3 separate regions of the Homo sapiens genome follow, and regions 1 and 3 are each linked to region 2. The links are contacts of gene promoters, found by promoter capture Hi-C in blood cells and fetal thymus (Javierre and others, 2016). All regions are on one chromosome and are shown on one strand. Each heading gives the region's core, a stretch centred on a gene start or on the middle of the fragment in contact. The rest is flanking DNA. Distances are from core to core; before and after follow the strand shown. Region 1 overlaps PHKA1 (phosphorylase kinase regulatory subunit alpha 1). Region 2 holds the start of PIN4 (peptidylprolyl cis/trans isomerase, NIMA-interacting 4). Region 3 overlaps HDAC8 (histone deacetylase 8).

Region 1 (4,395 bases), core at 12-2,511, 400 kb before region 2:
TGAAGCGTCTGTATTCAGCAAAGATAAATACAGCAGTCCAGTCTATAGGTGCTCTACTTAGCATTCTTTTCATGTGCTCCTGGTCTCTGTCTCACTCACCTACTTTCTACTACATCCAACTCAACTCCCTGACACCCTATCCCCCCATCTATTCTTAAACTCTTTCATATATATTTTCACTTCCTAATTCTAGTGTACATATCCCTGTATATCATGGTATCTGTGGGCATATGTCTGTTTCTTATAAAGACACATATTTGTGTGTGTATGTGTGTGTGTGTGTGTGTGTGTGTATAAGCATACATGGGAATTTTTCTGAATGTAAGCAGTTTTGATGTGTCTGTATATCAATCTGTATCTACATTTGATGGACTGAGTAAGAATGTTGCATGTGAGAGAAGGGATGTGACTGTGGACTCAGATTGACACACACAGATTGGTGGAAGAATAGCTTCAGTCCTCTTCCTTCATCCCATATGTAGGTAGCCTTGCTTGACAAATGTTTCTTCTAACTCTCCTTCTTCTGAATTGTGCAGAGACTCTGTTAACTTCCCTTTTTGCACTTAGATAACTTCCTACTTCAACCCCCTCCTTTATCTTGGATTTCTAAAGTTTTTCCCCAATATTGGGAATGGTGAGGGTGGGGATGAGAGACTCTCTGAACAATTCTTGCAGAACCAGTGACAATCTTATGAATATAATGAATAAGTAAGCATATAGTAGGGTGATAGAATACAGATAGTAGAAACAAAGAGAGGACAGCAAACCTTTTCAGCACTTCTCTCAGAGCAAATGGAAACACACAGTAAGTAGCTTTCTGACTACATTATTTTCTGGTCACTTTTAAAGAAAGTTTACAACCTGTTCTGAAACTATTTGTCTTTTCACTGGTTGTAAGTGTACCCCAATCTCAGGGAGTATATCTGTAGTGCCACAGGCAAAAGATCCACTCCTTCCCACACTCATTTGCCTGAACTTACTCGAAGGGCTGCATTTCTCTGAGTTTACGAAATTGTGTCATTATGGTCCCCATACAGTGGTATTTAACTTTTAAAGCAACTTTTAAGAAAACTCGACTTGTTTTTTGTTCATTTTAAGTGTGTGGTACTAAAAAGACATGTTAGACTTTTTTTAAAAAAGCACTTATGTTTTGAAAATAGAATAAATAATAAGAATTTCCAATTAAATCATGTCTGGTGCCAATGTGCAAAACTTCACATGTGTTTTTGTGATTGGAGTTTATTTCATGGCTTTATTCTACATACTCTGCTTAATTATACAGTACAGTCAAAGCTCATTCATTGGGTTGAAGTAGAATAATATTAATATATTAATACATATATAATATATTATACATTTCATAATATGTTAGATAATATATGTAAAGAAATGCAGTTTAATCATTCAAATACATACCCACTCAAACAAGGCTTACTAAATTCAAGCGGGCTTATTGACATCTGTAGGGAACATTTTCTTTTCTTTTCTTTTCTTTTCTTTTCTTTTCTTTTCTTTTCTTTTCTTTTCTTTTCTTTTCTTTTTTTTTTTTTTTAAGACGGAGTCTTGCTCTATCGCCCAGGCTGGAGTGCAGTGGGGTGATCTCGGCTCACTGCAACCGCTGCCTCCCGGATTCAAGCGATTCTCCTGTCTCAGCCTCCCGAGTAGCTGGGATTACAGGCATGCGCCACCACACCCAGCTAATTTTTTTTGTATTTCTAGTAGAGACGGGGTTTCACCATGTTGGCCAGTCTGGTCTCAAACTCCTGATCTCAGGTGATCCGCCTGCCTCAGCCTCCCAAAGTGCTGGGATTACACTCGTGAGCCACCGCGCCTGGCCTGTAGGGAACATTTTCTGATGAATGAGTAAAACATTTTTACTCAGCCTTTCAATTGTGTACAAATGGTGCTTCTTCCCTAATGAAGGGTATTTTAAAACAACTTGTTTTTCTAAATATTAAAAATATTTGGCAGAATCTTGTTTGTTTATACTATTCATTAGCCTTTTCTATAACAGGATTTATCCAGCAAGGATGAACATTGTCTCTACAGTTCCATCCTGGTTAATGAAATTTTACTACATTCTGGGAATCTTACACAACTGGTGGGGCAAAAGTTGTTCTTCACCACAGCTGGCAAAACCTCTGCCATTCCTTTTTCTACTTACCAAGTACCTAGTGTCTGCACTAATGCAGTGGAGATTATTTTCCACATGTAGTCTTCATTTCCTTTTTATTTATTTAATTTTAAAAAAATACAGCCATCAATTTTTATTCTTATATTTGGTAGACATTCATTTCCTTTTTAACTTGAGTAACCTCAGGTGTTGGTTTGTCCAGGGCAGCCCCCATTTATGCCTGTTTTACTGGCATAATTATCAATAGCACTGTGTCACTCTCAAAAAATGTCTCAGTTTGAAAGATATGGTCACCCTATATTTAGCAGATGTGTGATTTCTTTTAAGGCTAAGCCAAAAAACCAAGAACTTATTCTCAAACCACTAGTAGTACTTGTGCAGTAGTGGTATGGGGGTAAGGATGACAGTAGGGGGAAACTCCCTTCCCCACCAAATATAGAAATATTTGGCATAATGGCTCTTAAATAACCAATATTTGAGCACATACCAAATGCCATTGTTATATAGGCACTTAGCGTGAGCCATTTTATCTTCACAATTGCCATGTAAGATAGATACTGCCATCTTACAAGTAAGCTACCTGAGGCACTGAGGGTTTAAGTAAATTGCCCCAAATCAATCATCTAATAAGTGATAGAGCTGGAAGTTGAACCCATGCAGTCTGACGCTAGCGATCACATTCTCAACAATGACACTCTCCAAGGAAAATGACATTAAGGGGGTGGTGTGACAAGGGTCAGTTGAAGACAGTTGAAGTGTCACTGGACAGATAGTGAAATGAGCAGAGAAGACTCTGCTCATTCACTGAAGGGTGGTGCCCTTGTAATGTGTTTGCCTCCCCTTCTGGGGAAAAGCAGGGGAAAGCACCAAAAAAATATGGCACAGCCCAACCTGAACTTACCGGTTCGAATGTTACTTTTAGCAATAATGATTGAGGAAAGTGAGTCAAGTAACTTGCCCTGGGTCACCACCCTAGCAAGCTTTGAAGCCAAGATTCAACCTACTTCCTGTGACCTCAAGTCCTCCAACTGCAAATAAAGTGCATTGAGAAGGGTTTTCTTCCCAGTTTAAGAACCATATGGGTGTTACGAATGTGGAAAATTGAGGTGAGGGACCTGTGGCATGATGTGTGCTCTTTCTTAACCATGAGCAAGCGTCTAGCCGCCCTTTGAGATTAGCTGCAGGAATAGGTTGCCAATTCCAGAGCATTGTGCAACAATTTATCTTTCTCCATAGCTGAATCATCTTGCCACATTGCATGGGGTACTTGGATAGTGTTTCCAGTTTAGAGCCATTCAGCTATTTGTTACTAGATCAGAAAGGACACATGAAACAATACCTTTTCATGTCATCCAAGAAGAGTCCAGAATTTAGGGTATCAGTTGGCCAGTCTATCTCCTGCCCTCTTTCCGCTGCCTATCCCTGAAGGCCCAGAACAAGTCTCATTTCTCCTTATGTTGCCCGTCATCATGATCTCACCTTTCAGTCAACTCCTGTAGCTTCTCCTGTCTATAAACATGTGCAGTTTTCTCTTATCTTAAAAAAATTTCTGGGCTCCGACGTCCCCTCAAGCTGTTAGACTAACTCCTTCCTTTCACAATCACATTTTTTCAAAGAGGAAGCTACACTTAACTGTGTTGGCTTCACTTCTTAAACCCCCACAATCTGGCTTCCTCCCCACCTCCTGTTTTGTTTTGTTCCATAGGGCACCAGTGAATTTCTAATGACAAAAAGGGGTCTTTGACCATTCCTTGTCTTCTTTCTGACATCTTTTTCTCCTCTAAACTCTTACACACAGGCATTTCCAAAAATGACACTCTTCTTCCTAGCTCAGAGGTCTTCACCAGAGTCTGGGGCAGGTTTTGTGACATGATCTGATTTACTTTTTTTTGGAGGTTCACTCTGGTGGCTGCAAAGATAATGGGTTGTAAGGCAGCAAGAATGGAAGCAACGCCCAGGTTGATACTGCAGAAAGTCTAAGTGAGAGATAATAGTATCCAGACTAGAGTGGTGGCAGTACAGAGTGAGAGAAGTGAATGTATTTAAGGCATGTCTTGGACATAGAACCAATGGAAATTTCTGATGGACTGGATCTGCAGGTGAAGGAAAGGAAGAAACACAAATAACTCCCAGGTTTCTGACTTAGGCAACTGGATAGATGTTGATATCTTTACTGAGCTATGAAAGATAGAAAAGGAGTGGAAAGAACTTGGGTGGGGAAATTGGGAGCTTGGTTTTGAAAATGTTGTTGGATATGACTG
Region 2 (4,525 bases), core at 1,937-4,436:
TCTCGATCTCCTGACCTCGTGATCTGCGAGCCTCGGCCTCCCAAAGTGCTGGGATTACAGGCGTGAGCCACCGCGCCTGGCCGCCATTGAAAAGTTTTAAGCAAGAGTCTCCATCTTGCTTGTCTTAGTATCTCCAAGCCTAGCACAATGCCTGGCACACAAAAGGTGTTTTAATAAATGTTTGATTAAACTGAAAACCCCAAATACTGACTACCAAAACCCTAAAAAAATGTTACTGCCAAAGGAGTGTTATTAAATCAAACTCCTAACTGGGTTTGCTATAGATCCATTCTTGAATGATGATGCCTTCCAGTTATCCCATCCTCTTCCCTGCTGGATGCTGTCATCTTCTGACTGCCACCTCACTGCCTTTGATTTCCTGACGACTCTGGCATCAGCTTTGGGCTTCCTCTCCACCCTCACTCCTGCCATTACCTTGAGTGACCTCACCATCTATCTTGGGGAATCTCAGTTCTAGGTCTCTTTCCCGAATGTCATGCTCTCTACTCCAAGCTACCTGCCCCGGGGGCACACGATGGAACTGTGCCACTCAGAACTAGTTCAGTCTCTGGCTATAACCTCCTGTTCTTCCAGCTTCCTCATGTCTCATTCCCACAATACTTGCTCTTTAACTTCACAGAACCTCTCCCTTGACCCCAGTCCCTTCGTCCTGCTACATTCACCTAGGCCACCAGACTTCTTTTTCCCTTCCCACTCTGGACCCCATGTTCCTTCATCTGAACTGCATTCCCACTGGCCCTTGTAATTCCCTGGTGTTGCTATCCTCCTATCATAACTGCCTAACAAAACCTCAACCATGGCTTAAGGCTGCACCTAGCTCTTTTCAATCCTATATTGTGCCAATTGCATAGTACTAGGTAAATCAGACTGTGAAGATTATGTAGTCTACAAATTCATGGCCTTTGATCTTAGTCAGGCTCCTAGCCCTGAAGGCACTTCTTTTGTGTTTCATTCCCTCTTCCATTACGATATTCCAGACCTTTACCACTCTCCTCAAGATGCCTACTGAGTCCCTGCCCCTCCATCTCCTTTCCTATGACCTCAAGCATAAGGTGTCCCTGCTCCCCCTAGGTCCTGGATTCCATTTTCTCCTAAATCTCACTCTTCTGTACCTTTACCTCTTTTACTTTACTGGATCCTTCAGCTTCACTCCCAAGTTTTCCCCATTCCAAAGAAGCAAAGAAAATAAAACTTTCTCTTAATCCTCTGTCCTTCTCTATCTACCATCCCATTTCCATGCTTTTCAATTAAAACTTTCCAAGAAGTCCAAATTACCACTTCCCAGTCAGTTCTCTAGTCACGGTAATCTGGCTTCTGTTTCACTGAAACCACTTTTACCCAAGGCCACCTCTAATTTCCAAATCTGCTGTTCTTGATAGACTATACCCTCTCTCTTTAAAACATTCTGGTCTCTCCAGCCTCTGGCCACCATTCTGCACTCCCTCTATCTGTCTGCCTCTTTCTCTGCCTGTCCTAGGATCACATCCTCTGCTCTCTGCTCTTTTCATTCTATAAACTCTCCATGGATAATTGCATACACTCTAATGGGCTCAACTACCATCTATAAGTTAGCGACTCCTAAAACTTACATGTACAGTCTAGACCTCTCCCTCAAACTTTAGACTCAAATATCCAACCACTTCCTGACTACATCTCCACTGAGATGTCCCACAGACACCTCAAAGCCAATCTATCTGAAAGTGAATTCATCAATCTCATCCCCGCTCCTCATGTATCCTTGATGTTACCCTGCAGGACCAGCAACAGGTTAGAAATCCAATCCAGAAAACAGAATGATCGTTGATCCTCCCTCACCACCCCTCCCCAACCCAATAAATCACCAAGTCTTGACTATTTCACATCCTAATATTTACAGAATCTTTTCTCTTTTCTCAGTTCCCACAGCCACTCCCTTAGGTCAGTCCACCATCATCTCTCACCAAGACTACCACAACAATCTCCTTACAGGTCTTTCTGATCCTTAACTGTCCTTCTTAGCAGAATATATAGCACTCTCCATGATCTCGTCTTTGTTTCTGTTTTCATTCTCACCACTTGCCATTCTGCCTTGAGTTTTTGCTCCAGCAACACTACGCTGCACACATCATGCTGTTTCTCACCTCAGTGCTTTTGCTGCTGGACCCCAAGTAAGGAATGCTTTAACCTACCCTCAATGCACATCTTGACCTGCCTAATTCATCTCCAGGAAGTCTTCCGTTCCCTGTTCCCCAGCTAAATGAAGGACTTCCCTCAATTTCTATTATATCCCATACACATCCCTCAACACTACATTTAGTACAGTGCTTTATGATCACTAAGCCTTTATCTTCCTCACTACTTCGGGAGCTCCTTAAGGCCAAAATCTCTTTTTTTTTTTTGAGACAGAGGCTCGCTCTGTCGCCCAGGCTGGAGTGCAGTGGCGCGATCTCGGTTCATTGCAACCTCTGCCTCCCGAGTTCAAGCGATTCTCCTGCCTCAGCCTCCCGAGTAGCTGGGATTACGGGCGCGCACCACCACCACGCCTGGCGAATTTTTGTATTTTTAGTAGAGACGGGGTTTCGCCATGTTGGCCAAGCTGGTCTCGAACTCCTGACCTCGTGATCCATCCTCCCTCGGCCTCCCAAAGTGCTGGGATTATAGGCGTGAGCCACCGCGCCCAGCCTTCTGTCTTATTTGTGTATCCTCAGCGCTTAGCACTCTGCCTGACACATTTCTGTTCAATGGATGAATGATTCCTTCCCCGATGGTGGGCATGTCATTCTGTAAGCATTAAAGTGAACTTTAAGGACCATAACCAATGTGTACTTCCTATTGCTGGCTTTTGATAAGACCCAATTTTAGAGCTCTAATAACCCCTTGAAATAGCAGCCCTAAGTCATCGCCTCCGAGGAACTATCCCCATCAGATTCCATTACCCACTAGGACGGTCCCTGAACCGTAGCCCAATGTATTCCTACAGATGTAATCGATGGCAGCACTGTGGGGCCACTGGCTACCTGCTGCGTCCGTCCCGGACTCCGGAGATGGACTGTCTGTTCCCTCCCTTCGCTCCTCACCCGCCCCCATTCTCCTTGATCGCTCTGGCCGCTCTACCTTTCCCCGCTTTTCCAGAACCACTTTTTCCTTTGGGCGGCATCTTGGAAGCTTGTTGTTGAACGCTGAACCGCTCCAGTTGCCGTACAAGCCCCTTTAGAAGCCCCGCCATGGGCATGTCCTAAACAAATGCCTGAAAGCCGCATCTCAATTGACCGTTCTTATTGCGGCTCCGGAAGCAGGCACAGCTTGGGGCAGACCCCGTCCTTTGGCTCTTGGACCAATGGGGCTGAAGATGTCTGACCAATAAGACGCTTGGGCCGAAACAAAGGCAGAGGGGCGGAGACAAAGGCCGGATTAGGGCGGGAAGCCTGGCCTCTGCGCTTTTTGTGACTTCTTTCACGCACCCTAATTTGCACCAGATCCCCCACTCCCCACACTCTACGCCCGAAGCTCCCCCGTTCCCCTCAACCTGGCTTTTTTCACGCGTGCGCAGTAGGAGCCACGGGGGTGGGTGGCTCTGCAGTCCCTCGGCGCCAGCTCTGGCCAATCCCGCGGGGCCGCCAGACAAAGGGAAGCAGGAGTACTGTGGTGGCGGCCAACTTCCGCTGTCTCCTCCTACACACAGGGCTGCCCTCCCTGGCAGTTTTTCGTTTGTTAATTTTATTCTGCAGTTGTAGCTAATTAGGTTCAAAAGGTAGTTTTTAAAAAAGCCTGTCACCTTTTTGCGTCTTGCAGAGCTCAGTCATGGAGAAACATTGGAAGCAGTCTGAGTGCTCCTCAGTCGGGTACTGCTTAAATAATGTTTTAGCCACACAAGAAGATATTATACAACATTCAAAATAACGATTGTAAGGCTGTGTGTACAGATAGGGGAAATGTTTTTAAGACCAAGATAAAGAATATGATTCCTTGTAAAAGAAGTATATGTAATGTATTGTATGTTATATGAATATAAAGGAGAGGAAAGCTATAGAGCAAGATGTGGCCAGTGGTGCTAGTGCATACAGGTCATCGTGTTTGTTTCTGTGTATTTTCCAAAATTTCCATAATGGTGCAGCATAGTGTAGTAAAAGCATGGATTCTGGAGCCAGATTGCCCAGTTTCAAATCCCTGCTCCACATCTGTCTACTAGCTCCATGACCTTGAGGAAGTTACTTCACCTCTCTTTGGCTCAGTTTCATCATCTGTGAAATGGAGTTGATGATAATAGTACCTACTATTATCCTATCAGGTGTTAAGAGAATTAAACAAGTTCATATCTGTAAAGCACATAAAATGATGGCTTGCTCATATTAATAATGTTTGCCTAAGATAAATGATTTTTGAATTTGTGCCCACACACTTTTTCTCCCCTTACAATCCCTCCCACCATCAATAATTTGTATATGATATGTCAGGGCGTTTCCTCCAGTCCATGAGAGAGCTGTCCTAGCTTGCCACTACCAGCCAGAATATAGAGGTCTTCCAG
Region 3 (4,700 bases), core at 370-2,869, 360 kb before region 2:
AGGCAAGAGGAGGAAAAGAGTCAGACTTGGAGTTTGTGTGCCTTATTTGTATAAATGATAGTGTCAGACAAGAGTGTATGTTGTAAAGCCAGAGCTAGGAGTCACTAAAGCCCCAGTCAGGCCTCTGCTCCCATATCAGCTCTTTCCTTCTCAGGAGGGGTGGGCAGCTGCTGAAGGATGCGGTTCCTCTGGGCTTGTTTGACCCCACGGGAATCATTAGCTCTGCTTTTGTACATGGGGATTTCACTGCTTGAGAAACCTGCTGTCCACAATGTGCTTGAGAGCTGTAGGGTTGTTCAGGAGAAAGAAAGTTAAACAGACTTTGCTTATTGTCTTAATCATCCATTGTTCTCACTGAAATTCTCTGAAGGGATTTTGGGTGTCTGGATTTGCAGCTTTCTGACCTGGGTTATTGTTGGGGGTGCGGAGCTCTTGTCTAGTTATCATCTGATGGCTGAAGCCTCCAACTGCCCTGGATCCAGGCCCATGAGCTGGGCCCTCATATTAGGAATTTTTCATTAATGGAATCATTTCAAATGGTCTGACAAAATAACCCTTTTTAAAATTTTGATTAACATTTTTTAAGAATGGTTTTAGATTTATAGAAAAATTGAGCAGATAGGCCAGGCACGGTGGCTCATGCCTGTAATCCCAGTACTTTGGGAGGCCGAGGCGGGTGGATCACGAGGTCAAGAGATCGAGACCATCCTGGCCAACATGGTGAAACCCTGTCTCTACTAAAAATACAAAAAAAAAAAAAAATTAGCTGGGCATGGTGGCGCATGCCTGTAGTCCCAGCTACTCGGGAGACTGAGGCAGGAGAATCACTTGAACCCGGGAGGCGGAGGTTGCAGTGAGCGGAGATCGTGCCACTGCACTCCAGCCTGGTGACAGAGTGAGATTCCGTCTCAAAATAAATACATAAATAAATAAATAAATAAATAAAATTGCACAGATAGTGTAGAGTTTCCATAAACCCCACACAGTTTCCTCTATTGTTAACATCTTACATGAGTATGAAACATTGTTACAATTAACCAATATTGATACATGATCACTCATTACAGTCCATAGTTTATTCAGAGTTTATAGTTCCTTAGTGTTTACATAATGTCCTTTTTCTGTCCCCAGATCCCACTAGGACACCACATTGCATTTAGTTGTCTCCTTAGGCTCCTCTTGGCTGTGTCAATTTCTCAGACTTTCTTTAATTTTGATGACCTTCACAGTTTTGAGAAATACTGGTCATAATACTCAGTACTACATTTTTCAGTGTGTTTTATGTATTTTAATGTATTTTTCCATCTATTTAATGGAATCTTTTCAAAAGCCTGAGAAACACAACCCATTTTTATTGCTCTTCTCAACACCTATTTTTATGATATGTCTGAACCGTTCCTGAAGCTAGTCCTTGCTAGAGGAGGGCAAGTGTCTCTAGCATTGGTGAATTTTCTAATACAGTATAGACTCCAGAGTAAGCCTTTCTATTTGTTTTCTGTTGTCACCAAACCCATCCTGATATCTTTTCTCAGGCAACTTTAAATGGAAATTGAAGGTGCAAACTCAAAGTTTGTATCTAAAACTAATTGATCTTTTGCCTTCTTTTTTCTTCTGATGTCTTAACTGTAGTAAGAGTCCTAATTTTTCAGTGTCAGTGTTTAAATATAAGAACCAAGGGACCGAGAGCAGTAGCTCACACCTGTAATCCTGGCACTTTGGGAGGCCGAGGTGGGTGGATCACCTGAGGTCAGGAGTTCGAGACCAGCCTGGCCAACATGGCAAAACCCCGTCTCTACTAAAAATTAAAAAATTAACCAGGTGTGGTGGTGCGCACCTGTAATCCCAGCTACTCGGGAGGTTGATGCACAAGAATCGCTTGAACCCAGGAGGTGGAGGTTGCAGTGAGCCGAGATGGTGCCACTGCACTCCAGCTTGGGTGACAGAGCAAGACTTCATCTCCAAAAAAAAAAAAAAAGAAAAACAAAACCAAGGGCTAAGAGAAAGGAAGTAAGTTGCATAGAGCCACATTATTCCACAGCTTTACCTCAATATGATTTTCTACCCCAACTTGTCTTTAATATAACTGTATTATCACCAAGATAAAACTCATCTTTTTTTCAGCATATTTGCAAATATTTAATCCAACTACCCACTCAGATTCTTATACAACTGATACTACTAAATTTAGTTGGAATGCTAGTAAGCTGCATTCACTTCCTCACTGGTCTTTGCTAGAATTCAGTGGATTTTTCTTCTGATAATCATTAGTTTCAATGCCTTTCATGTACTGTCTTTGGAATTTAGTAAAAATGGCTCTTTAAACTCTTCTGGAAACTAAGGACAAAGGTAAGGCATAAGGGGCAGAGGTAAGGCATAAATTGAGAGGAGCTTAAACCACTAGTCTTGCCTGATGTACTTTAATATAACAGTAATAATAAAGCATATAAAGTGGATCAAGTCAACTGGTAACTATGGACTTTATTCCAGACAACTAACAAATTTTCTTTAAGAGATTATGACAGCCTCCTCTGGGAGGCATCTTGAAGGTCACTAAGCTCTTGTTAATGCCTTGACCAGGAATCCCTATCTGTGGATTTACTATAAGAGGGATATATATCCATAAAGAAGGTACAACAATTAACTTCAGATTTCTGCTTGCCATTCAAGGCTTAATAATAAATAATAGCAGTATTTACTAAAAATTTCTCAAATGCATACTAATTGCAGGAAATGTATAAATAGTTGGAACTCAAGCCATTCACATGAGATAACATTAATTATTGGGTGTAATAGTACAAAATATGAAACTTTTAGAACTGTTCAGGTAAATAAAGGATCTTTCCACCTCATTAGATGGCAACTTTGGAATAGGCTCAACATTGGATACAGGTCACTGAGACTGAATGATTTATCTGTGCCATATACTTGAATACATTTTTGTTTCTGATTAAAGGTTGGTCTTCTTTCAGGTAATATCTGTAGTTAGTTAGCTCAGAAAGTTAGAGTATAGTGCTAATGAGGCCAAAACTATGATTTTAGTCCTTGTACAAACCAGTTAGTTTTCATTTACTCTAATGCTACTACTGGCTGCACCATTTCCCTTGGCCAGCCAGCTCTTCAAAAGCATATTCTAAGTCATAAGGGAGGCCAATCTGGGAGGCGTAGGTTGATAAATCTATCCCAGTTTTGAAGAAACAGCCCAAACCTTCTTTCTCTCTGTGCTGGGTCAATTACATCATTGTCACTGGTTTGGCTCACTATGCTGTTATGAGTACCCTAAAATGCAGAACTATGTCCACTGCCTCCTCTGTTTTATATCCTATTAGCTCAGGAAAGATTTTCATTCCATTGAGCACCAGACTGTGGGGTATATTTTTGGAAGCAAGTGTAGGTGTACCAGAGCCAAAAAAGGTTGGGAACAACTGTAGACAAACTGATCTCACTGTTCCTAGAGCTGCCAACTCTAGGCACAGAGCCCTTAAAGTGGACTATAAATGTCAAGTGGGTAGTTAAAAGAAAACCCATTATGTGGAACTAATTTCTGATTTCCCACAATTAGGTGCATGTATTTTGTGTGCATGTATATTTTATGTGGAGAGAAGCAGATGTGCACGAAGCTTATTTATTTAGCTATATGTATTAAATCACAATTGGGGGCTTAATGAGAGAAAAAATGTGAGTTTCATAATTACAATAGTTAAAACTTTGGATTTTTAATAAATATCTTTAAACTTATCATGATAACATTCCTCTGAAGGAGACAGGTAAGATTAGGGAGTTTTTGGTAAGATGAAAAACTGAAGCAGAGACCTAGGTCTCCTGGTTTCTACCCCGGTTTCTATCATGTAAGTGTCCAAGAGGACTTGCTTGATATAACTATGAAGTCAAATAACAGAAAGATTTCTGTTTTTTCCAGTCTCCTTCTTTGATAGAGGAAATAATGCAGTTATAAACACACCAGCTTGATCTGTAAAAGCCATTGAGTCAGTTCTCACAAGAGAGCTCTGCATTTGACAGCTACATGAACTGGGCCACAGAAGTAGTGAATGGGGTGTTACGAAAAGGAGCCCACAGAAGATATCATAACAAGGTTTGGACATTAGGCATGGAAACATCTGATTATATAATCTGTTAACCAGCCATAAGCTATAATGACATAGGCTAGGACTTGTAAGCTCATGTTTCCTTCCCTAGATCATTATACCCAGCAGTGAGGAAAAGAAAGCTAATGTGTTCTAATAGGGATGTCAGCACTATCTTAAAGATCAAGTACGGGTGTGCTCCAACTGAAAGAAATCTCAGGAAATAAAAGATGTGCCGTTACCAAATTTATAGATACAGGGATTTTGGATAGAGTATTCACTTTATAGAAGGGCTCTTCCCTATGACCGGATTTACCTGAGTTCCTTAAATTAAGTTCTCCAGTGAATTCAAGATTTGATTTACAAAGAATTATCACATGACTTTTCAGGAATATATTCCTGAATCAAATTTTACCATAGTATTACTATTTATAAAATGTAGGTATTTTATGATAGTATTACTATTTATACAATATAGGTATTTCACAATACACAGTCTATGCACTAACATAAAGCAAAGAGCAGATTTCACAGAACTTTGTTTTCCTGTTTTTTTTTGTAGCACCATATGAGATGTGTAGATTTACATGTAAGGTAAAGCATAAAAACCAGATTATG

The links. Contacts are between HindIII fragments. The CHiCAGO score rates a contact against its expected background, and 5 or more counts as called.
Region 1: a contact is called between a fragment that was not itself captured here and the fragment with the promoter of PIN4 in region 2, in 1 of 17 cell types (total B cells). The highest score is 7.3, in total B cells.
Region 3: a contact is called between a fragment that was not itself captured here and the fragment with the promoter of PIN4 in region 2, in 2 of 17 cell types (M2 macrophages and endothelial precursors). The highest score is 5.9, in M2 macrophages.

Annotation. Positions count from the first base shown.
Region 1 is chrX:72,575,636-72,580,030 of GRCh38, reverse strand. It overlaps PHKA1 (phosphorylase kinase regulatory subunit alpha 1), which reads left to right. Exons shown (of 32, transcript NM_002637.4): 32 at 1-1,217. Among named protein-coding and RNA genes, the nearest start is that of HDAC8, 5.0 kb to the right of the region's middle. The HindIII fragment of the contact is 3,710 bases long and covers 1-3,116 here.
Region 2 is chrX:72,180,418-72,184,942 of GRCh38, reverse strand. PIN4 (peptidylprolyl cis/trans isomerase, NIMA-interacting 4) reads right to left here and starts at 3,186. Exons shown (of 4, transcript NM_006223.4): 1 at 3,115-3,186. The coding sequence starts at 3,157. RefSeq lists an enhancer at 2,927-3,146. The HindIII fragment of the contact is 4,711 bases long and covers 3,168-4,525 here.
Region 3 is chrX:72,535,461-72,540,160 of GRCh38, reverse strand. All of the region lies in intron 4 of HDAC8 (histone deacetylase 8), which reads left to right. Among named protein-coding and RNA genes, the nearest start is that of HDAC8, 35 kb to the left of the region's middle. The HindIII fragment of the contact is 4,001 bases long and covers 1-3,619 here.